Linked DNA regions of Homo sapiens: regions 2, 3, 4, 5, 6 and 7 are each linked to region 1. The links are contacts of gene promoters, found by promoter capture Hi-C in blood cells and fetal thymus (Javierre and others, 2016). All regions are on one chromosome and are shown on one strand. The core of a region is centred on a gene start or on the middle of the fragment in contact, and the rest is flanking DNA. Distances in the headings are between cores, read along the strand shown.

Region 1 (3,242 bases), core at 235-2,734:
TCCAGAGCACAGCCACTTACTGGCCTCTCTTGAATCCAAGGACACAGGAAAAAGGCCTGCACAGACACTACAGATGGACTTGAGGTAGTCTGGGGAGGAATTTCTGTAGTCCCAGTCCCCAATCATGATCTAAAAGGAGGAAAGGCATGTGGACTTTAGACGGCCTCGTCCCCTTGGCCTCAAGGACTCTTTGCCCTGTGGTAGATGTGCAGCTCCTATAAAGAGTGGGACCCTGGGCTCTAAGTTCCTAAAGAAAGTTTTGCTCAAAGCTAAATCTTTTTATCACAGGTGCATAGATAATAGAGCTAGAGTGGATTGGATCTATTATCTAAGACCAACCCCCTCATTTTGTAAATATAAAAACTGAGAGCCAGAAAGGGAAACAGACTTGCCAAGTTTACAAGGCTACTTAGCTATATAGAGCCAGTTCGTAGCACACAGCAGGTGGTCAATAAATGTTTATGTATTCAGATCAAATTGGATTAATTCACTAAACATATCTAGGAACAGAGCATAGCTGTACCCCCTGCATTCCCCCAACTCCTAGATTAAAACTTTCCCCAATGGACCTCATGGCCTCCTTCCTTCAGTTCCAACTCACTCTAAATGTCAGAGATTGCAGGGACATAGATGATATTACAGCTCTTCATTTAATGTGGACAACTAAGACCCAAAGATGGAACATAACTTTCTCAGGGTCACCCAGGGAGTTAGTGGTATTGCTAGGATTAAAAGCAAGAACTCTCTGACCCAGCCGGCTGTCTTTGTCTTTTTCCCCATCTGAGCTGACACCAGAATAAGCCCGCGACTGGGCTCTGTCTCTCCTTGGAAAGTACCCCACAGCTGTGACCCAGGGGCTGTCTGCAAGGTCCCTCCCCACTGAACCTCTCACCTGCCTGAGGCGTGCTGCTCCAGGTACTGCTTCCAGCCAGGGGCCAGCTCACTGGGCTTGAGGTTGGGGTCTATGATGAGCTCCCAGCTGTCCGCTGGCTTTGCCACCTCCATCTTCTCATAGAAGACTTTCTTCCACTCACAAGTGGTCAAGCTGGTACACATGGTCCTGCTGGCAGAGGTGGCAGTTCGAGCTCAGCCCTGGTGAGAACACAGAAAGAGCACGGATAGGTACGGGACAATTCAGTGTCTACGGTCAGAATCCTCATCGGCAGGACTGGGAGTAAACAGGACCCAGCTCCCTCCTCTGTTACCCTGGAACCTGTTACCATGGTAGCCAGGCAGGGCACCAAGAGTGAGGGCTGGGGAGAAGGGAAGCCCCAAGGGGGAGTTTCAGGGCCCTGAGTTAGGCTTCAGAGGCAGCGCTGGGTAGGCCTGAGAGGAGCAAGCACAGTGGGAGGCCCAACCTCAGACCACACTCATCTGGATTTCCAGAGGTCTCCAGGAGGCAAGGACTATTTGGTGGCCCTGCTTCACCCAACTGCTCTTCTAGCATTCTCCACATCATGTGCTATGGTAAGTACGACACCCTAGGAAGTCAAGGAGAAATGAGGGACAGGGAAAGGCAGAGCCTGCTGCTTCCACACCCCCTGATATGCTGTGACCATCACTTACCATGTGCCTAGCACAAACCGCTTGACCTGTGTGCTGGCCAAAGCAGATCAGATCAGGAAACTGAAGTTTATGCAACCCCTAAGTGGCTCATCCAAGATTCAGATCTAGGCCTTCTGAAACCGAGCTCATTTGTTTATTTATTTTAGTACTATTGTGCTCCTAACAGGGAATTGAGTGAGAAGTAACATCTCTTTGCCCAGGGCAATCTTAGACCAGTTGGTGAGCTAGAATGTAATTTCATATGCCATGCAAAGCACAGTAATAACATTTCAGATTCATAGCGTCATAGAACTGTTAGAGCCCATATTCAGTTCCTGGTCCCAAGCCAGGCTAAGGTGGCTGCTGGGGTAATGAGTTTGTTCTGTGCTGCAGGCTCCTGCTGCCTCCATTACTGCTGAGCTGGAGCAAGAGAGCATCCGTAGCTCTGTGATGCCCAATTCAAATTCTTTAGAAACCAGAGGGGAATCTGACTTCAAATTTGGTAATCCAAGTGAAGACACGGTTACCTGAAGGGAGGCTGCCTTGAGCATGGAAAAGACCAGGCATATGGCTGCTTACCCTAGCTTTGGTCCAACTTCCAACTGTAATCATCTTACGATTCTTTAACCCGGAAGTCTGGATCCCTAGACACGCAGAGTTCCAACAGTAAAGAGCTTCAAGAAGTGAAACAGGTTGCTAAGAACCGGAAGCTCTTGGTGTTGAGTTGCCAAGTGGTTTTCAGGAAGTGTGAAGTCAGGGACAATGTCACTGGATTCTCTCTTGAAATGAAAAGTGTTACTCTAGCGGCTTTGTGCTAAAGACCTCAGAAAGGACACAATTGTCTTTGAACCATTGACTGACAGCTCTAGAAGAGCTCTTTTATTTTTAAAAATCTGGTTTATTTCTTGAACTCTTCATTTCTTAACCAAAATTTATTGACATTGAATTAAAACAACTGAGGCCTGGAAATGGAAAATTACTGGCCCAGGCTCTCAGGACTGGGTAGCTCAAACCTCACTGGGGATTCCCTTAGAAGCCAGTTACCAGACCAGGTGAGACAGAGGGATCCATGAATGGCCAGGAACTGAACGAAGCTGAGATGAGCTTATGGCCTGGCCTAGACCCTCGTGCCAGGAAAGAACCTCTGAGAAATAGTATACCCTTGTTCCCAGAACAAATGGCAATAAAGGAAAAACAGAAAGAGGATGAGAATTGTCAGGGTTTACCTGTATTTTCTTTTTTCCTCAAATAATGCAATCCCCTTAGGCCTAGTATCAGGTTTAATTTAGCATAGCAGCTTCTAAGCAGAGACCAATAGAATTCATCTTTCTGTGTAACAGCACTGTTTTCACTTTTCATACAATCAGTGAGCACAATTACTACTTCAATTTTCCGCGAATGACACTATCTTATTCCAGAACCCACGATTTAAGAGCTCACAAATGTATATTGTGTACAGCTGTGGCCACATCACACTCTGGCAGCTTCATTATACATATTTTGTCTAGGCAATACTTTTTCAAATAAAGAAATTGTTATTTCTTTATAAAATAAAATACTGAGCACCTGTATTCTGCAAACAAATCAGCAAGGGGGAGGGGATGGATAAAAGAATCACTTTTCCCCTTCAATTTGGAATGCAAGTTAATGAAGAGCTTTGTAAAATATTTATTATTCAATTTTACTTATTAGAGTAA
Region 2 (3,242 bases), core at 551-3,050, 1.5 Mb after region 1:
AGGGTGGCAGTGTAACTCTCAGCCTACTTGGTGAAGTGAGATTCAGACTGAGTGGGGTCACAGCACAGGGCACTGTCTTGCCTGGCTTTATCTGAGCCAATCACACCTCTCCTGGCCACTATCTGTGGTCTAGCCCCCTTTGTGCAGAAAGAGAAAGAAGAGCCTTGAGGACCAGCCTAGTCAGGTAAGATCAAGTGGCTTGTCACTGGTTCTGCAGAGATGGGTTATTTCTCTATGAACCAATTGCTTCTGTCCCCTAAGCCGAGTTTCTGGTCACCTCCCCCACTGACTTGCAGTTTGGTTTAGGTTTGTAGTTTTGCATTACCATGTGAAATTTCCCTATTCTTCCTTACTGTCCAGGGTTGATGAGGCTTGTAGGCTAGCATTTTTTAGCCTATAAAGCCACTTGACATACTTATCTATATATTGATTTTGATCTTAACTGCCCTATAGTGCAGTAGGATGGGTATAATTTTCTCCATTTGGTGGCTTAGTGAACTGAAGCTTGGTCAATTGAAGTGATTTGTTCCAATTGGATCAGCAGGTTAAGGCCAAGATTAGATTTGATTCCTTCTTCCCTCTTCCTCTATTATAGAACCCAGCAGGTCATACCTTATCCCCAAAAGCCAAAAGAAGTGAAAAGCCTTTCTGAACCGTTAAATGGCAAACAAAAGGTGATTATTTCTTTGCAGGCAGTTTGAGAGGGTTATTTTTGAATTCATCTGAGGGAAATTTCATAATAATATATAGGTCCCATCAAACAGGGCTGTTTTTAGAGAACAAACGAGGGCATGTATGTAAAGGGGAGTTGTAAACTGAAAGGTGATAGGCAAATGAGACAGCGATGACTACTTGGCGCCTGAGACATCCTCCAGATCTCTGTATAAGCAGGTTTTAATTCGGGGCTAAATGACACTCTCCAAATGTCAGAGGCAGCGTAGTGAGGCACAGATCATACAGGCCCTGGGGAAATATTTTAGCTTTTCAGTCACACTGTGGTATGTAGAAAAGCAAATCTCAATGGGGGAAAAACACCCCCAAATCCTTTCAAATACACTCATGCAATTTCCTCTCTTGTGACAGCTATCATAGTATCTCATTGTTCTACAGTTTTAAGGAAATCTCATCTTCAGTTATTATGTAGTTTACTTTTTAAGATGCTAATTTTAGCTATCATTTTTCTTTTCATGCTCAAAAGGTTATATCATTCTTAGTTGTGGAAGGAAATGTTTCCTCTGTGTGTGTGTGCATGTGTGTATGTGTGTGTGTGTCTGTTTGAGTTTATTATGACAGTACTGATAGTCATCCCTTGGGGCCACCACAAATGCATTGGGTTGTAATGCTATATAATCTTTGGCAGACTTCTATATATTCTTTTTCTTTCTTTTCTTCTTCTTTTTTTTTTTTTTTGAGACAGAGCCTTGCTCTGTTGCCCAGGCTGGAGGGTAGTGGCGCGATCTCGGCTCACTGCAGCCTCCACCTCCCGGGTTCAAGCGATTCTCCTGCCTCAGCCTCCTGAGTAGCTGGGATTACAGGCATGCACCACCACACCTGGCTAGTTTTTGTATTTTTAGTAGAGACGGGGTTTCACCATGTTGGTCAGGCTGGAACTTCTATATATTCTTGGTGTCTTTCTGGCTGTAAGGATCCTGAAGAAATCGTTTAATTGATTACTTTATTCAAAACAGAGAAACTGAGGCCCAGAAAGATGAAGTGATATGCACAAGTCACACAGCCAGTATCATTGGAGCTGCAAGTCACATATGGGTCTCTTACTCTTTCATTGCCCACAATATGTAGTGAATGGTGCTAGGAGTCCCAAGCAGAAGCATTAGCCATGTCATTTTGGAGACTGTAACTAGATGTCCTTTAAGATTTCTTCCAATTAAGAGTTTTAGGGCACTTTGACCTTTGCTTAGCATCTACTGGAGATGGTATCATGCCCTTTAGAGCAGGGAAATCTGTCAGAGAAGCCTCTCTCTTTATTGACTTGGTTCTTCTGGAATATTTGCTTCGGCCAAATGTTGGAGCTGCTCCTTAGGTATAAGATGGGGAGATGGGCAAGAGGTGGTGGCATCTTCATTTTCTTCAGCCTGTCTGGATTTTTATATTTTCTGGGATCTTCCTAAATAAGTGCCACTCAGTTTGATCCTTTTAAAACTTGAAGTGATAGTTGATATTTTACTCAACATTGTTTAATCTAATGGCAGCGTCAAGTCCGAGAATTCATTTACTCCAGAGCTTGCAGAGCAGCAGCCACAGGTGAATCCAGCATGCAGATGTGCTTTGTTTGTGCTGCCATGTTAAACAAGATAAAACTAGTTCCAAAGTATTTGATATCTAGGAAATTTCCTGTAAAAAATCCAGATATCTTGTTTTCAGGAAGATCAGGAGATCTGATAATAATGGACCCACATCCCCTCATGGATAACACCTGTGCTGGGGCCGGGCAGCAACTTCTTCCTGTAGATAGAACATGTTTTCCCCCATCCTCCACAGCTCCCATTTTACCTGATTTAGGCTACCAAGTGTTTGAATTTTCCACTTCTGATCTCTTCCAATCTCTTAGGTATTAGGATTCCTTTCAATCATTCTCTTTCAACGGAAACCTAGTTCTACATAATGACAGACCAGGCTACAGGTTAATGGCACCAGGGAAGAGGTGAAGTTAATTATTTGTTCCTAACCTCTCACTATGTAAGAGATATAGGATATATGATGACTTCAGTAGAACATACCGTTGGCTCTGATACCTACCCAGGATATTTTCTTCAGCTAGCTATCAAAACTCAGTGACTTGAATGCTAAAGTATTAAGCAAGATGACACTGCTGCAGCATAATATTTAGATGCCTATAAAAGAATAGGAAGGACAGTTGATACTTGCAGGGTAATCCTCTTTACTCAATCGATCAATGGCATAAAAACAAGAAAAGAAATTATGATGTATGATAGCACATAGATAGCAATATAATGCCCTGTTTCCAAAGAATCCAAATTGCTGAAATACTAGAGACTAGCTTAATGATATGTTTTCTCTTATTCACCCACTAATATAATAATCACCTTTTGATCACCTATGGTGTATTATACAACCCTAAGCTTAGGGATTTAGGGGTAAAGAGTAGAGACCCTTTCTCAAAGGGGCTTACCATCTAGTATTGAAAATGTGTACACAAGTAACTATAATGCAAGACAGAATATGATAAATATTTCAAGACGAAGAAGAAAGCAAATATTGAG
Region 3 (3,242 bases), core at 213-2,712, 1.4 Mb after region 1:
AGTCTCAAGTATTTGTGTGTGTAGTCTTAAATCAAGTTCATACACTATATTTTTTATTGATTGATTACTTTAAAAAGCTGTGACAAGTGTAATGAAGGAAGAGAACAGGATTCTAGTAGAAAATTAGATGGGGCCCTGACTGGAGAAGTCAATGGGATATGAAGGATTTCTCCTCCAAGTGGTATTTAAGTGGAGACCTGAGAGATAAATTGCAATAAGGATGACAAAGATGGAGACAAGCACCTGTTCAAAGACCTGAAAGAGGGACCAAGTTTAAGGAGTCTGAGGAACTGGGGGAAACAGGGTGACAGAAAGGGGGTGGTCAGGAATGTCTTTGCTGAGCAGGTGGCTCCACTAAGGAAGACTTAGAATGTGCAGAGGAAAGACAGGTCATTTCGGGCAGGACGGGCAGCACGTACAGAGGACGCGTCCAGGTCTGGGAGAAGCTCCTTCCATCTTCGTGGTGATGCGAGGTGGTGGTGAGATGTTCAGGGAATGTGCAGAAATGGAGAGGAAAGCTGGGCCAGGTCATAAATGGCTTTATAAACTACACCAAGGGATTGATTATACCTGCAGACCCCACAAAAGCACTGAAGATATGCTAGATTGTCTTCATTTTCTTTTTTTAAAACCCATATCCCATGCTTGTGAGTAAGGAGAGGGTAGAGGCATGCCTTCTGTATCTCTAGATCCTACCCCCTGCCCCCATTTTCAACGATGGGTGGTTCAGTTAAATTCTATCTCCTCCTTGTCACTTTGTTCCCAGCTCTGATTTGTGATCTGTGGAAGCTTTCATTTTGCCATTCTCTGATTCTTGTTGTAGTGACCTTGTGCTACAGTCTCTTGATATGAGTGAGGGGTCAGCAGCTTCTGAAGACCAAAGAGACTCTAACTCAACCCTGCATGGTGCTTGCAACCTGTTCCTGCATTCTGACAGGAAGGTTTCACCCAAAGGTGTGAAGGATGAATCACCCCATGATGCAGATTATTTTCGGCTGCCAGTTGGCCATCTCTTACTGAGATCACAGAAACCAGAGGCTTGTGAGACTGTTTAGCCCAGTGCTCAGGCTCAGTGGAGAAACTCATTAGCTCTATTTAATTAGAGAAAGCAAACACTTCCAAACCTACTTTAATGTCAGCCTACTTCCCACCACCTCATTAATATATTTTTAAAAACTTTCACCTTTAATGTGGCAATGATTTTCTTAATTCTTTCAGTATTAGAACTCCATAGATTTAAGGCATTTAGCTAGAGAACAAGTAGAAAGATTATACAAGTGATAGTCATGATTCTTTGAACCAGTATCTTTTGGTATTACTAAATAAGAGATTTTTAAACTCGATTTTCATGTATAACCTAGATGAAGGTTGTTGTTCTGGTTTAATCCTATAATATTGCAATTTTTAGGATCATCTTTTTTTTATATAGGATTTTACATTTTCCAAAAGGTTTTACATCCATCAGATGATTCCCACAAAACACTGAAACAAAGTAGGAGCCGCTGGTAATATCTCCATTCTCCAGATGAGGAAGTCTGGGCTGAGAGCAGTCAAAGGATTTCTCCGAATGACATCTATATGCTTCAAGGTTGACAATGAGGACACAAGTTTCAGGCCCAAGTGGCTTGAGATACTGCCTGTCGATGATAAATAAGGAAGTTAGGAGGAGAAGATGGTTGTCTGAGAAAAGTGACAAACTCAGAGTAGGATGTTCTAAATTGCAGCTGACTAGAGAGCTGGAAGCTGGATGCATATTTGTATGGCTCTGTCATACAAAAGCTGCTCCAATACTGTGTGAGTATGGTCTCCTCAACCTGGAGGGGGCCAACATTTTTCTTGAGTCAGAATCTTTTCCAGGTAGCCTGAGAACCCACATTAGGAAGTAACCTCTTAATTCATCCTAGACACCTCTTTGTAATCCCTTGGTCTTTTACTCAGGCTGACCCCAACCCAGACTTAGGTGTAGGTGACACTGATTTCATAACATGTTTTCATATGTTTTACCACAATTGATTCCCACAGCACTCCTGTGAGATTTGGATTCTGGTCTCTGTCAAATCTACTGGAAAATGGGACCCTGTTAAGATGCAGGCTTTTCCAGTAGGAAACAGCTAATGGTGGAAGACTGGGGGCTTGAAGCTTGGGCCTCTCTCTCCAATAGCGTGACTTATTCAATCATTTCCGGTGAAACTCCCCCAGACACTTTGCTTTCCTCTTCCATTTCCTCTCTGTGTAGCTTCCTACTTTAGGATCTTCAGGAACTCTTCCCACAGTCTAATGACCAGATCTGCTTTCTGGAAACATTCTCATGTCAGTCATACATGTTTTACTACGATTTTAAAACTTTGAGTTATCTCTGTTAAGAGTATACATATTCTCATTATTGTCTTCTCCTTGCTCACTATAACAAATACTTCTTGAGCCCTTGCTATGCTCTTGACACTGGGAGTACAATGATGAACAAGCAGACATCACCTACATCCTCCTGGATTCAATATGGTTGTGGCAAGAAAGCTTTGTTTCCTATAAGTGGACTTCAGAGATCCACATAACTTATAGGCAACCATTTGTTCCTGCAATTTCAAGGTATTTTTAACCTTTAATTGTGGGTTTAGGAATATTTAGCCAAATACTCCTCCAGGTGACATATAGGCAATGAAGAGGAAACAGTACATAAAATAGTGATGTGACTTCACATTTCGAAACAAAGAGGCAGGTGGTTCTGCTGTCAAACTGAGCATTAAAATATAACTGGGGGTGTAGGTGTGGGAGTTTCTCAATAGCCCTGGAAACAGCTAATATTTTGGTAGATTCACAGGATTTTCTCTTTTAATAAAGGGGATTACTTGCATCTTATCACAGGACTAAACAGTGAAGCCAGGAAATAGTATGAGTTTCCTACTGGTTTTTGCTGAAATTTTGGAACAGATCATTACACAACTGATTCATGGGTATTTTGAAGAAAAGACACTGATCACTAGAAGTTAATAGGAGTTTACCATAAACAGGTTGTGTTAGACACACCCCATTTCCTTTTCTTATTACGCCACACAACTGGTAAATCAGCAGGATGAGGAAGTTTTAGCAGTGGACTTAACACGACCTCTTGTGACGTGATTGCACATAAGCAGGTGAAATATAGGCAGGGTCATGTCTTACACACTGGTTTCACGGGCAGGTGAATAAAAATGACGCTTGAGCCTTGCTAACTGTTCCATGTAAGCTAGAAGGAGGTTTTTGGT
Region 4 (3,242 bases), core at 298-2,797, 1.4 Mb after region 1:
CCAATTCTGTAATTTTAGTGTTATTGTAGAAAACATTCCCCTGGCCTTTCTTTGGCCTCAGTTTCCTCATCTGTGAAATGAGAGTAATGATAGTTTCTACCTCCTAGGGCTGTATGTAGTAAGCAAATGTATATAAAAAGCTGACTTTTTATCTATCTCCAGAGCCAGCTTCTTATTCACCATCTACATTTCCACTCAAATGGCCCACAGGCATCTCACACACAACATGTACCAAGCTGCATTCACCATGCCTCACATGTTCCAATATTGGTGGCTTTTCCCTCTTATCCATCCAATTTCCTTGTGAATAGTTTTCTTCTTCTTTCTCAGCCCTACATGTTACCTGTCTCTAAGTTGTGTTCCATCAGTTCTAGTATGTAAATTGACTCTATTGCCTAAATTCAGGCCCTCATCCCTTCACGTCTGAATAATTGCCATGTTTTCCTACCTGGAATCCCTCCCTGTTCCTACTTTTTATAGCTTTAAGAGATAATTAATTTTTTTAAAAAAGAAGGAATCAGACGATGTTCATTCTGTTTGTTTTAAATTCTTCCATGGTTCCCCAAAGCTTTTAGGATAAAGTTCAAATTTCTTTGTTTATTAATTTTTTTAAAACTTTATCTTGCTTTTGTGCTTCATCATGTTAATATTTCTTGCCATTTTTCCTAACACTTATTTTGCCCAATCATGGGGAACTTCTGGTAGGTCCTCAAACGCCAGGGTCTACCAAAGCTCATTGCACTTGTAAATGCTGATTTTTCTGTTCATCTCTCCTTGCTCTGGCTAACTTCCTCTTAAACTTGTCTCAGCTCAGGTGTCATCTTTTGCAGAAATATATTTTTCTTGATGCCTGTGGTTTATTTTGGTGCTTCGTCTGTAATTCCAGAGCACCTGGTACCTATTTCTGCCAATCAATTAACTCTCCACATCATGATTCTCAACTTTACTTTGCCTCCAAATACCTAGAGCCAGGGTGGCAAACAGCAGCCCAGTGACCAAAGTCATCCTGCCACTTGTTTTTGTAAATAAAGTTTTATTGGAACAGAAGCATGCCCATTCAGTGTGCTCTATGGCTGATTTTGGATAAAAAGAGCAGAGTTTAATTGTTGTAACAGAGTCTATGTATCCCCCAAAGCTAAAATATTTACTATTTGACCTTTTGCAGAAAATGTTTGCAGTCCCCTTTCATCTATTACTGTGCATCACTATTACAAAATTCTTAGCCAGAGATGCCAGACCCTGAGGGAGAAAGTGGATCAAGATCTTGCAGAGGAGGAGTGTCAAGGGAAAACTAGAGTTGGATGATTCAGATACATACCCTAGGGGATCATGTTCCTTCCCTACACCACGGACAATCATTCCATGTGTCCTTATGAAATATTTCTTATATATCATGAGACAGAGACTGTATGTTTTTTAATCTTTTGGCTTACATGCCTAACATGGTGACAGACTATTAGAAGTAAAAATAAGCCAGAAAACAACCCCCAAAAGCCAAGCTCACACCAAAAGAATTTTTTGAAGGATACTGGGATATAATCAGGGGGTCTAAGAAAGAGGTGAACACCCAGTTCTTGAAAAGACACAGCAATGATGTGGAGTAATGATTGTTATCAGGATCCAGCCTCTGTCTTGTGTCTCTGCTGTTTCTCATCATGTCAGCTTCATCTTTCCCTTTCACCGTGGACTTCCTCTAGCTGGCAAAAATCACGGCCCATCACAGTTCCTGAGTTTTTCATTTTATAGTTTTCAGTCATTGATGAGCCTTTATCCTGACTTTGTCTTAGTCCCATATTCCAAAATACTAAGTCAGTTTACCATTGATGTGGTCAAGGAAGAGGGGTTAGGTGAGAAAACAGAAATGTTAGTGATACTTATGGATAGACTAAAGATAGAGGATGAGCCAAGAACGAAAGAGGTACTGTTCCCAGAATAAGGGAGAGCTACATAGACAAGGCAGTAGGTGTCCCCATGGTAGCTCCTGGTAGATGCCCCCCAACAGTAGCACTTAGGAGGTGCTTAACTGATGTATGTTGACTCAATAAATAAAGAAAGAAATTAACCTCTTTGAGCCTCTTCTGTGAGATGAGAATAGCATCTACCTCACAGGCTTGTACTGACGATAGAGCACTAACCACAGTGCTTGACAGGCGTAGATATTCAGTAAATGCAACCTAAATATCCTAGCACTCATCTGGGTTGGAATTGCAAAGGGAAATTAAGGGAGAATTTATTACAGCAGATTATCTTTTAAAATTCAATCAGCATGATTATCCAATAAAATTTTAATCAAACTCTATGTCCCATCTTGTCTTCTAATCAGACTTAAGTCAACATAAATATTAGCCCAGGACTCTCACTTGGCTCAGTCTGAGTTGGCGCATTCCCTAAGGGAAACTGTAGGGTGTCAGAAGAAAGCCCCGATTTGTACCTATAAGAGACTATATTTACTTGTTCAGAAGACGAACAGAAACTGGAGATTAAGAACCCTCGGTCTACTAGATCAATGTCTACTGTTTCACGAGTTAAGCTTTAGCTTCCCTGTTAACCAGACTAGCTCACACAACATATACCCACCTGAACTATTAATGTGTGCATTTTCTTGGATGTGCCTCCTTCCTTTGGACAGTATTGCTCTTTGTCTCATATTTAAAATGCCTTCCTCTGCCCTGTTACCTTCATCTGCATAACTCCTCAACCTTCAGGGTCTCCTCTGGCTCCATAATTTTACTGACCCATCCCCATCAGCTTTGAAAAATCATAATTCAAGTTTTTCCAAGACCTGATACAGAACACTTTGGCACAAGCCAGGTACCTGGGTCCTTCTACTCTAATTCCCTAACCAAACTCTTTCTTCTAAACTCATACTGAGAAATGCTAAAGATTTCCAATAAAATTTCTTTTCATGGCTCAGTGGTTTGTAGAAACCGTTTATAGTTTACAAAGCTCTCTACAACTCTCTGATGTTGGTGTTATTAAGGACATCCCACTCCTGATCAGAATTTCTAATTGATCGATAATTTGGGGAGATGAGACTTGATTTTACTGAGAATAGTGTCCTAAATCTTTCGTTAAGGAGGCTTTTTTCAATGGTATGTCTCAGTGCTAGAAGAAACTCTAAAGCTTACTCATGATGTTGGTCCTGAAAAGCACCTGAATCTTCTCTATATGGCCCTCAGATGGAATGTAATCTGTACTGAAATTTATGGCTTCTGAATTGACTTCCAGAGGAATATCCATTT
Region 5 (3,242 bases), core at 384-2,883, 1.3 Mb after region 1:
TTGTCCAGGCTGGTCTTAAACTCCTGGCCTCAAGTGATCCTACTGCCTTGGTCTGCCAAAGTGTTGGGATTATAGGTGTGAGCCACTGCACCTGACCTACAGTAGTTTTTTTTTTTTTTTTTTTTTTTTTTTTGGTGACACAGTCTTATTTACTGCTCATTCGGTTTCTACTGAAGATCTAGGTGTTTCTACAGGACAACTGTGTCCCATGTGCTGACTCAGTATTTTAATTGCTTAAATATTTTGGTCTCCCCATATAGATACAAGCTTTTACAATTCTTATGGTACGGGAAGAGCCAAACTAGAGAATCCTGTATCTGCAATTAAATGCTTCCACTCACATTTCATGGTCAAATCAAGTCAAATGGCCATGTCCAACTTCGAGAGGTGGATTAGTGGAATCCTTCATGTACTCAGAAGTAGAGCATATCTAGATATTGGTGAACAATTGCAATACTTACCCTATGGACCCCAAAGTCCTATGGACTTCTGACTGACTGACTATTCAGTTGGAGTTAAATGACTAAGGAAGGTAAGTATGATGCCCCTATCATCTTAGAACACATGAGTCAGTACTAAGAAAAATGTTCGCTCTCTCTTTCTGCTTTTTCTATTACTTTGATTACTATGCTTGAGAAAGCCTAACAAAAATGATGCTATTCCTTTACATTTTGCTCAGCATTGTAGATGAGCTATTAGTCTTTTATATAATGTCGCCTCTGAGTTAGAAATCTAGTGTTGAAGCTAATAGTAGGGTACTGTTTATGCAGCTTACCATACAGGGTTGCTGTGAACCTCAAGGGAAATAATGGTTATAAAAGGGCTGGATATACTTTAATAAATTCAACAAATAGTTTAAGGTGTTGTTATTGTTATTTCTTTCATTGAGCTTTCATTAGGAGCATCTCAGGATGACTTTTCAGCTGAAATCAAATTGGCTGATTCTTCAGTGGGCAAAACCCTCATTTTCAGACAATCTAAAGGCCTTTCTTATCAGTAGATTCTCCTAAGCATTTATGAGTGTAACAGGATGGAATAGGCCTGGGGTAGAAGGTAAGGGTGCTCAGGACTAGTCTGTGATAAAAATGGGGTTCCAATGGAAAAATAAGGCAGCCTATAGTATAAATGTGAGCCCGCTGAGGTCTGCTGTGTGATTCTCTTTAATAACAGAGTTGAGAGGTGTTAATGAGCATGACACAGGGCACACAGCCATCGAGTGAATTAGTCATAGCTTGATTCTTTTTTGTGCCTCGTCTAATGGCAAACATTACCCAGCAATCACAGCAGTATCACTCAGATGGAGCAGAAGGTGTGGAAGGGTGTAATGAGGCTGCCTAAAAACTGTTTTACAGAGCCCTGCACCAATTCACAACAGATAATAGAACTCAGAGCCAGACAGATAATAGAAGCGACAGCCATTTATTGCTAAGAGACTGTCTGAATATTTGTGCATAAAGCAGCCCACTCCAAGTTCTTTAATCACATTTCTTGAGAAAGAGTGGCAAAATGGAAAGCCACGTGTCAGGCTACTTCCATTAGTGTGTTCTAAATCAGTATAAAGAGGAATAAGCAGATACGAAGAAAAAGAACACTGAAGAAGACTGCAGATCAGAAACAGCTTCTGGCTGTTTGAATTCAGCAAATTGGGACATCTTCTCCATGTGACTAGGACAGAGTATTGGAAAATAATTTTATCCTAAAGTAATCTGATATTTAGGATTGTTGAAAAATATCTTAGTTTACAATTCTTCTTTGATTCCTAAAAGAGAGAATGGCTCACCCAGACCCCATTTTTTCTTACTTCATACCTAGACTTTGGCACTTTTTTAGTATTGTGGATAGTGAATGGAAACATGTCGTAAAGTTCTAGAAGATGGAATTCATACTTTTCCGTAAGTTTTTTTTTTTAAAGACCAACAATCTTATCTTCTTCCAAGACGATCCCAAAAAGATTTAAAAGGAAATTTAATCATATTACAAGGTATCTCCTAATAGAAAATGAAATTTGGAAACATGGTTTTTCATATTTTTTCCTTGGCAACCATGTTCTGCTATGGTGCCACATTTTAAGAGGGACATTAACTAGATGACATGTATTCCAGATAACATGTCTAAAATGTCACTGGAATATAAAACCATATCATTTTAAAATGTTTGAAGGGCCTAAAGAATTTAACATAAAGAGGACAGAGAGTGCATAGCTTGGCAATAGTATTCAAATAGCAGATATCTATTCCTCCTGTGAAAGAAGAACTGTATGTTCTGTAGGACTTAAGGGAGTAAAAAAGAAAGACTAAATTAAAGTTAGAGTAGGTCCCTTCACCTGATTACAGGGAATGATTTGCAGTGTTTAGAGCTGTCCAGAAATTGAATGAGCTGTCTAGAAATTGAATAAACTGTCCAGACCAGTGAGCTCCTTGTCAGTGGATGTGTTCAAGCAGAAGCTAAGTAACCACTTGCTAGAGATATTTTAAAGAGTTAAGACGGAGAGTTGTCTTAATTGATGTGATATCCACTTGAACCCAGGGTGTCTGTGATATTAGTTATTATTAGTCTCCTCAGGGAGGTTCTTGATGCATTGTAACCTGGGGCTCAGGAGTTGAGCAAGGATGAATAAATTGAACTTTAAAGGCTAAGTTTGAAATATTTTTTCTTATCTTCTGAAGTCAGAAAGATTTCAATGTTTATATTATTATGACTGTAAAAGCAAGGTTTATTGTTAAGATAAATAATAAATTATGATTGCTTGAGTTTTTATACAGTTCTTTGTTTTCCCTGAAGTCAATAGTTGCCTTGTTTATTAATTTTTCTTATTTTTAAATACATATAACTAATTTGTTTCCAGATGTTCTGTTTTATAAAATACTCTGCATTATTATTTTATACACAACCAAATGCACTAAATCATCCATCAAGTGCATGTAGCAATTGGTACCCAACTGTTAGTTATATATCCAACATCCATTGTCCTTTTTTCTTTTACTAATGGGAGCCGCATACAAGCTTAAGGTAACAATATGTCCAGCTTTAGAAATCATTTCCTAGCCTTTCTTGCAGCAAATATGTCCATAAGATACAGCCTTCTAAAGAAGATGTAAATAGCTGTCTACTGGGGTTTAGGGACAGGTCCTTTCCTGTTAAAGGCATTGCCTATTTCTCCTTATTACCACCACCATCACATCCTCTTCTTCATCCTCCTTCTCCTTGTTTTTCCCCTCCTTTTCTGCTCTGTCTTCTTCCTT
Region 6 (3,242 bases), core at 295-2,794, 1.3 Mb after region 1:
ATATCTGGTGGTTTTGGAAGTTCAGAGGCAGGAGAAGTAACTTCAGCTGGGCGTTCATGGAGTGCTTCCTGGGGTAGGTTTCATTTAACTTAGATCTTTTCATTTAAGTTAGATCTTAAAAAGACACAAATTAACCTGGCAAAATGAGTGAGGGAGGCAGGCACAGCTCCAAGAAGGACTCAAGCTTCGTGTGCTAATGTCTACATCATTTGCTGATTACTATGGTTCCTCACTCAGAGCTTGAATAATTTTAGTTTACACAAACTGTTAATAAACTTGGCTACCTATAGATATATACAAGACCCAAAACAGCACATTTGATGAGGAAGAATGGGTTACAATAGGCAGGCCTACTAAAAAGGAAGACAAGTACAAGGTTGATGACTTGATAAGAAGAGAGGAGACAGAAAACAAGATAAACAGAACCCCTGCCGCGAATCCTCAGTCACTTAAAAATCACAGCAATCCGGATCGAGTGTGGAGTCAAGAGGTGCTTTAAATTTAGAGAGTCCTCTAGAATGTCATCATATATTATATTGCAGTGAAGAAAGTGACAGCCTACAGTGTGCCCCCTTGTGAAAGGCTAAATTATTTTCTTTATGCTTTGTCTTAGAAGATAGACAAATGCATAATCGATTTTAGAAATAGTTCCATCCTAATTGAGTTACAATGGAGTTTGTATTTAAACCATAAACCTTCAGTATTTGGAATGCTGCTCATCAGAGAAGAAATAATTTGGTTTGACTTTTAATAAATTCCAAAGTTCTGTGGATCACATTATGTCATACACTCTCATCCAAACTCCTGCTTATCGCGTCTATGCCTCCTCCACTCCTAAGGTTTCTTTTGCTTCTTCCTTGACTGAGGCTTTCTGCAACTCCCCTCTGGAGTCTGGCGCACGGAGCTCCTGCTGATGCTTCTTCTTCTGCATTTCCAATGTGCCAGTGAGGGGGCAGTGGGAGAAACTCTGAGGCAGGGGCTACTTGGATATGGGTCTTGGCTTCCAACCTAAAAGTTGGAAATTTTAGAAAAGTCCCTTCCCCTCTCTGAGCCCCTGTTTTCCCATTCAGAAAATAAGAATAATAACCCTTATTCGTGGAGCTATTGTGAAAAAAAAGGCATGAATGCATGTGAGCATGCTTAGTAAACTGGGCAGTGGTTCCATTCTCAATTCATGCAGAGCAATTATAACTACCCCCTCCCCTAGTTGTCATTTGCATGTGGACCTTTCTCTTTCCCTTGCTTGGTAATTGACTTGAGACTGTGTTTTCCCTGGTTTTTGTTTTGTGTTTGGTATCTCCCTGAGAAAAGCCTGTTTTGGGCTCTGCAGGTCATGTGTGTTGTGTGACCCTGGAGGAGGGACACTATTCATAGCTGATAATGTGAATAGGGTCCTCCACGGTTCTGTGATGTAGGGGTCCTGGCCATAGGGCCTAGCGTGCTGCTGTCTCTGTATGTATTAAACATTAGTGACTCTTTTTCTGTCCTTAATACTTAAGCCCTGTCCTGAGGCATAAAATATTACTGTGTACTGACCCTGAATTGAAAATTTTGCACTGTATTATTCAGCTTCAGGCCTAGCTTTCAATTTCCCATTTCATTTTCGACTGGACTACACTGGTCATTGCCTTGAGAGATTTTTCCCAGCCACAGAAGTCTTCTGGTGAAGACGGTCTTTAGACTGGCAGGGTTTCAAAGTAAATATAAGTAAAATAATTGGCAAGTCTGATATTTAGGCTTTGGTGTTTTAATCCCCAATTCTTTTGACACTGGGCACATCTCAACAGCCAGGCTTGGAAGTGGTGGTGGGGGAGAAGGACATCACAGCGTATTTCTGCTGCACTCTCCTCTTTCCACTCTCATCTGTATAAAGTCTTTGCAGCATCTGTGAAATATTGTGGTCTAACTGCTATTCGATTCTTGGTGGACTTCCGTTTCTTCCTCTGTGCACTGGGACTAATCATACCCACATCTGAGGGTTGCTAAGGAGTGACATGAGATGCTATGTGTATGCCTCCAGGCACAGAGCCAGACCCCTGTTAGGTGCTCACAAAAGCAATAGGTGAACATGAAACCATGGTGACAAACAGCCTGCTTCTCCTCTTCTCTGACAATGCTTGTCTAGATTGGGGAGCTCTGACATAAAACTTTCTGTCTTACAATGAGAGAACAATCTATCTATGTGTAACTTCCATCTATGAGACCCCTGGGCGAGGATGGTGTGTCTTCCCCTTTTCTTAGCGTTCTCACTCTGTCCCGTAGTGAGGACGGACAACAGAGAGCTGCTGTGGTCAGCGAGCCGAGGAGCCAGACAAGGCTCTGTGGTTACGTACTTATTTAGTTTCTTATTTATTACTTTTGCAGTTAACATTTTTTACAATCATGTTATTTTGTGGTTTATTTGCAAAATGCATTGTGAGCCAAGTTTGCTTCAAATGTGCTCTGAGTCAGAAAATGGTTACATAGGGGACCCAGAGAGATGGGAGGGGAGGGTAAAGAGCAGCTGCAAGAACATCATATAATAGATATATCAGTTATTGCTCCTTGCTTTGTAATTAGGCTACTCAAGGTAGACGGAGAAATGGAAACAATGCATAATAGGCTCATGTGCGGCAGCGTGAACAGACTCTTCTGCCTCAGAAGTCAAATGCAAAGGGGCCAGCCTGGGACTTGGGGAAGAGAACCCTGGAGAGAGCTTCACTCCTGCTTAACCACCCATGAGCACCAAAGCAGCATCTTTGAAAATCTTTGGGAGACAACAGTAGAGCTTGGTTAGAGAGGCAAAAGTGACGGATAATGAATTAACTCATAAATACTATTAGAGGGTTTATTATAAATTGTTTTTGAAGATTTTAATAGAAACGAAAACCTAGTTTTCAGAGATTAGCTGAAATAAGTCCCAAGAGAAGCTTTGCCAGAAGCCGCTTTTCCTTTTAACTCTCTGTTCTTCCTTTCTCACCCCCCCAGGCAATGGTAGATTCCTAAGAGGACGCCTGTTGTTGGTGAAGCCCATTTTGACTGTGTTCAAGTTTGTTCTTGTATTATTCCATCTGGTGGCTCCCCAAACCGCTTTCTTTTTTTACTCTCCTTGTAAATATTTACATAAGAAGGTTCTTGCAAAGGCAGGATCCTATATTGGTGGATTGGCGCTAAGCAGAGTCTTGACGTGTTTTATTCCTTTTACGAACAATTCGGTTAAGTGGATTCTCTCCCAGCTCATTAAAAAATAGCCTTTTATTTTA
Region 7 (3,242 bases), core at 378-2,877, 1.3 Mb after region 1:
AAAAAAAACAAACATTTGCAGCTGTTATCAGGGGTAGGATAGAGCACATGAGGTTCCCAAGTTTTGATCCAACACATCAGAACACACTTGATTTTTACTCTGGCTTGGAGTTTACTGCCTTCAGCTTCTTCTACAAAGCCTGAATGTTGCCATTTCATGTCAAAACCTGCACTGAGAGATGCCGATGGCTTCTTGAGCTAACTTCAGCCCATCACCGCAGTGGTCTAGATGACCAAGGAAGTGACTGCTTCATTACAGCTTGAGGGGACCCTCTTTCTTCATCCCCCACTTTCACTTTTTTTTTTTTTTTAAATGAAAAGGCCGATGGTTCTCCCAAGTAGCCAGAGGCCAGCAGGAGCACTAAGTAAGAGACAGCAAGAAGTGTTCTTAGTGAGAACAATGTGGACTTTGGAGTTATGTAAAACCCAATTTTAATCCTGGCCCAGCCATTGACTGGCAGTTTGATTTTGAGTTATTTAAGTTGGAACCTTATTTTTCTTGCTTATTTATTGAACTATTAATTGAAAAAGTGATTCTAGTCCTAGACCCCTATTTGACAGCTAGAGAAATGAGACATGAACTGATACATGCTCAGATAAATACATTTCTTACTCAGAGGATAATAGTCAATGATTAATAGTTTCCACTGAGACATCACAAATAAGAAATAGATTGAAATTACATTTGAAGGATCTAGGTTAGATATCAAAAACTTCCTTGGAAGGGAGCATCATGAAACCTCTATTTCTTAGAAATCTTTAAGAATATAATAGTCACACATGTTGAATGAGTTTAAATGAAGCATTACTTACCAGGATAGACGACCTCTCTAGTTTTTCCCCAGTTAAAAAATCCAAGACTTGGGTTCCTTCTTTCAAGAGGAGTAATGTAAAAAGTCTGACCCCTAGTGGTCATCGTCTCTGCATTGGACCTAAGGGAAAAAGGCCAAAAAGAATGATAACAACCAGACTTTGTTTTGGAATTAAAAACGAACCTTAGAAATGTGAGAGTCAAATTGTCTAATTCTAAAACAAGGGAACTTAGACCAAATGACTACAAATATTTCCCCAACACCAGCGACTCTGGAGTAAAGCTTGTTATGGAACTCAGGACCTTTTGCTGGTGCTCTGGGTTCAAGATCCAATCGCTTCATCTTCCAGAGTCTCCCACCTGGAATCAGCCTCTTGGTGACATAGAAACAGCAGGTATATGCTGATTCGACTTTCAGGGCACAGGATTCAGTCCGCATTCTTTCCTTTTCTTTCGTGATGAGGAGCACTTAATTGTTCAGTAGATGTAACTCTCTCTCAGGTAACCAACCTAAGTTCTCCATTCCCTTTGTACATTCTGACAGATGCTCATAGCATGCTAAGTGCTCATGGGTGGTAGGCTGCTTTCTAGTTTCCTGATGTCTGTCTTCTCCCATTAATCAAATCTGATGCATACAAAGAACCAGCTGATTTTTTCCTCAAACCCGTTTATGCTACTTTTATTAGTAAATGCAATTATATAATTTAAATATTATGCAAATAGATGAAATATAAGTATAAAAATAAAGAGACTGTGTCCATAAAAATTAAATTGATTGCTTTGGAAAGGCTCAAGAGGGAAGAATTGCTGAAAAAATGATCTAAAATTAGTTTGTGGATGAGATAACTGTAGAAGAATAACACAAAGATTAAAATCCAGAATAATTGTGCAAGTTTCTAAGGTTTTTATCTGCTACAAAGAACAAAAGAAAAGAAAACAAAAACAAAAATACCTGAAACTTCAACTAATAGAGGATGCATGATGGGAGTGATTTATTCAAGAAAAATGAGATGGAGCTTCACAAATGGAAAATGTGCACTTAAAGAGAGGCCTTGGCTCTACCTACTGGCAAGTGAAAGTCTTAAGTTAAAATATATGTATTTATATGATTCCTAGCTTTAGCCAAAATTTCTGATTAGCTGACACTGAACTGTAATAGGTGAAAGTATTTCTTTAGTATTAAGATTCAGATATCAGAGTGAGATCCAGGAAAACTGGTTTACTTAATATCTCCTGAGTGCTAATCTCCTGAGGATTTGGTCTTTCAACAATTCCTGTAAGATCCGTTTTTATTTCCATAAGTCTCCTTTTTGCAGGCACTTTCCGCAGATCCTTTTCCCCTTGACAGTAAGTAAGCTTTGTCTCTGAACTAGGCCCCAAGAATTCAGCTTTCAAACCCTCTGTTAAATTAATGTTTGTTCACTTTAGCAATTCAGTAATAGTCACTCAGGATCTAGAACAAGATCCAATGTTTGATGTCTTAAGATTTGAACAGTGTAGGGCCATATGTGGACACTATCAATATTACATCTTGCTTTTTCAAAATGTAAAAGCCATAAACATGGACACACTCGTTGTAGCCTTGTCTTCTGGGGAATGCATGTTATAGAAATAATATGCTGTGCAAAGATGTTCATTGCAGCATTATGTGTAATAGCAAATACACTAGAAGCAACTTAAATATTTAGCAACAAGGTAATCATTTTATTGTGATATTTTAGCCAAATACACTAGAAGCAACTTAAATATTTAGCAACAAGGTAATCATTTTATTGTGATATTTTGGCCAAGTATCATTTGGTGGTTATTGCTCGTCACTCATGTAGTAATTACAATGACTCTGTTGGAATGAAGGAAAAAAGTCCAAAAAAATAAGAACAGGCCAGACTTTGTTTTTGGAATTAGAAATGAACCTTGAAAATTTCATAGTCAAATTCTGTAATTCTAAAATATAACTATTATCAATAAGGAAAATTGTTCATGATAGTATTTTAAGTGAAGAAAGAAAAATACAAAATGGAATGAACTTCACAATTACCAACTTTGTAAATAAAGGTATGAAATGTATGAACGGGGAAAGATTTAAGGCTTTACCTTTTGCTAATTTTTCTTTTCTGTTTTATTCTTTCGATGATTGTAAAACCCCACATTATGCAATAATTCACCAGTTTTTCAACACTGGCATCCTGGGAGGCCTTGAGGTGCCTGGGATTTGACTTAAAGTTGGCTAGAACCACAGGATCACCCCTCTAGAGGAGTGAGGATTAGGCAAGAGCTCACTCAATTATAGGTGGACTGGGTTGGAAAGTACCTTTGAGATCATTAAGATGAATTATACCACTTAAAAGCAATTTGATCTTGAATAAGTTACTTGTCTTTGCTAAACCTCAGTTTCCTTACCTGAAAAGTGGCATAATAAAAGTATCTGTGCC

The links. The method cuts DNA at HindIII sites, captures the fragments that hold promoters and counts their contacts. A CHiCAGO score of 5 or more calls a contact.
Region 2: a contact is called between a fragment that was not itself captured here and the fragment with the promoter of RTP2 in region 1, in 6 of 17 cell types (total B cells, endothelial precursors, monocytes and 3 more). The highest score is 9.4, in total B cells.
Region 3: a fragment that was not itself captured here is called in contact with the fragment with the promoter of RTP2 in region 1 in 2 of 17 cell types (naive B cells and endothelial precursors); the score reaches 7.7 in naive B cells.
Region 4: a contact is called between a fragment that was not itself captured here and the fragment with the promoter of RTP2 in region 1, in 1 of 17 cell types (total B cells). The highest score is 5.5, in total B cells.
Region 5: a fragment that was not itself captured here is called in contact with the fragment with the promoter of RTP2 in region 1 in 4 of 17 cell types (total B cells, naive B cells, fetal thymus and 1 more); the score reaches 9.8 in total B cells.
Region 6: a contact is called between a fragment that was not itself captured here and the fragment with the promoter of RTP2 in region 1, in 7 of 17 cell types (total B cells, naive B cells, monocytes and 4 more). The highest score is 16.3, in total B cells.
Region 7: a contact is called between a fragment that was not itself captured here and the fragment with the promoter of RTP2 in region 1, in 12 of 17 cell types (total B cells, naive B cells, non-activated CD4 T cells and 9 more). The highest score is 16.3, in total B cells.

Annotation. Positions count from the first base shown.
Region 1 is chr3:187,701,073-187,704,314 of GRCh38, forward strand. It overlaps RTP2 (receptor transporter protein 2), which reads right to left and starts at 1,485. Exons shown (of 2, transcript NM_001004312.2): 1 at 893-1,485. The coding sequence starts at 1,056. It overlaps LOC100131635 (hCG1645011-like), which reads left to right and starts at 1,294. Exons shown (of 3, transcript NR_034062.1): 1 at 1,294-1,467. The HindIII fragment of the contact is 5,389 bases long and covers 1-3,242 here.
Region 2 is chr3:189,171,948-189,175,189 of GRCh38, forward strand. It overlaps TPRG1 (tumor protein p63 regulated 1), which reads left to right and starts at 24. Exons shown (of 6, transcript NM_198485.4): 1 at 24-184. The HindIII fragment of the contact is 2,597 bases long and covers 503-3,099 here.
Region 3 is chr3:189,141,746-189,144,987 of GRCh38, forward strand. It overlaps a transcript of TPRG1 not described here. Among named protein-coding and RNA genes, the nearest start is that of TPRG1, 29 kb to the right of the region's middle. The HindIII fragment of the contact is 1,350 bases long and covers 788-2,137 here.
Region 4 is chr3:189,102,160-189,105,401 of GRCh38, forward strand. It overlaps a transcript of TPRG1 not described here. Among named protein-coding and RNA genes, the nearest start is that of TPRG1, 68 kb to the right of the region's middle. The HindIII fragment of the contact is 1,962 bases long and covers 567-2,528 here.
Region 5 is chr3:188,992,102-188,995,343 of GRCh38, forward strand. No RefSeq gene overlaps it. Among named protein-coding and RNA genes, the nearest start is that of TPRG1-AS1, 46 kb to the left of the region's middle. The HindIII fragment of the contact is 2,736 bases long and covers 266-3,001 here.
Region 6 is chr3:188,973,088-188,976,329 of GRCh38, forward strand. No RefSeq gene overlaps it. Among named protein-coding and RNA genes, the nearest start is that of TPRG1-AS1, 27 kb to the left of the region's middle. The HindIII fragment of the contact is 2,725 bases long and covers 183-2,907 here.
Region 7 is chr3:188,956,128-188,959,369 of GRCh38, forward strand. No RefSeq gene overlaps it. Among named protein-coding and RNA genes, the nearest start is that of TPRG1-AS1, 10 kb to the left of the region's middle. RefSeq lists an enhancer at 1,023-1,557 and a silencer at 1,073-1,367. The HindIII fragment of the contact is 1,073 bases long and covers 1,092-2,164 here.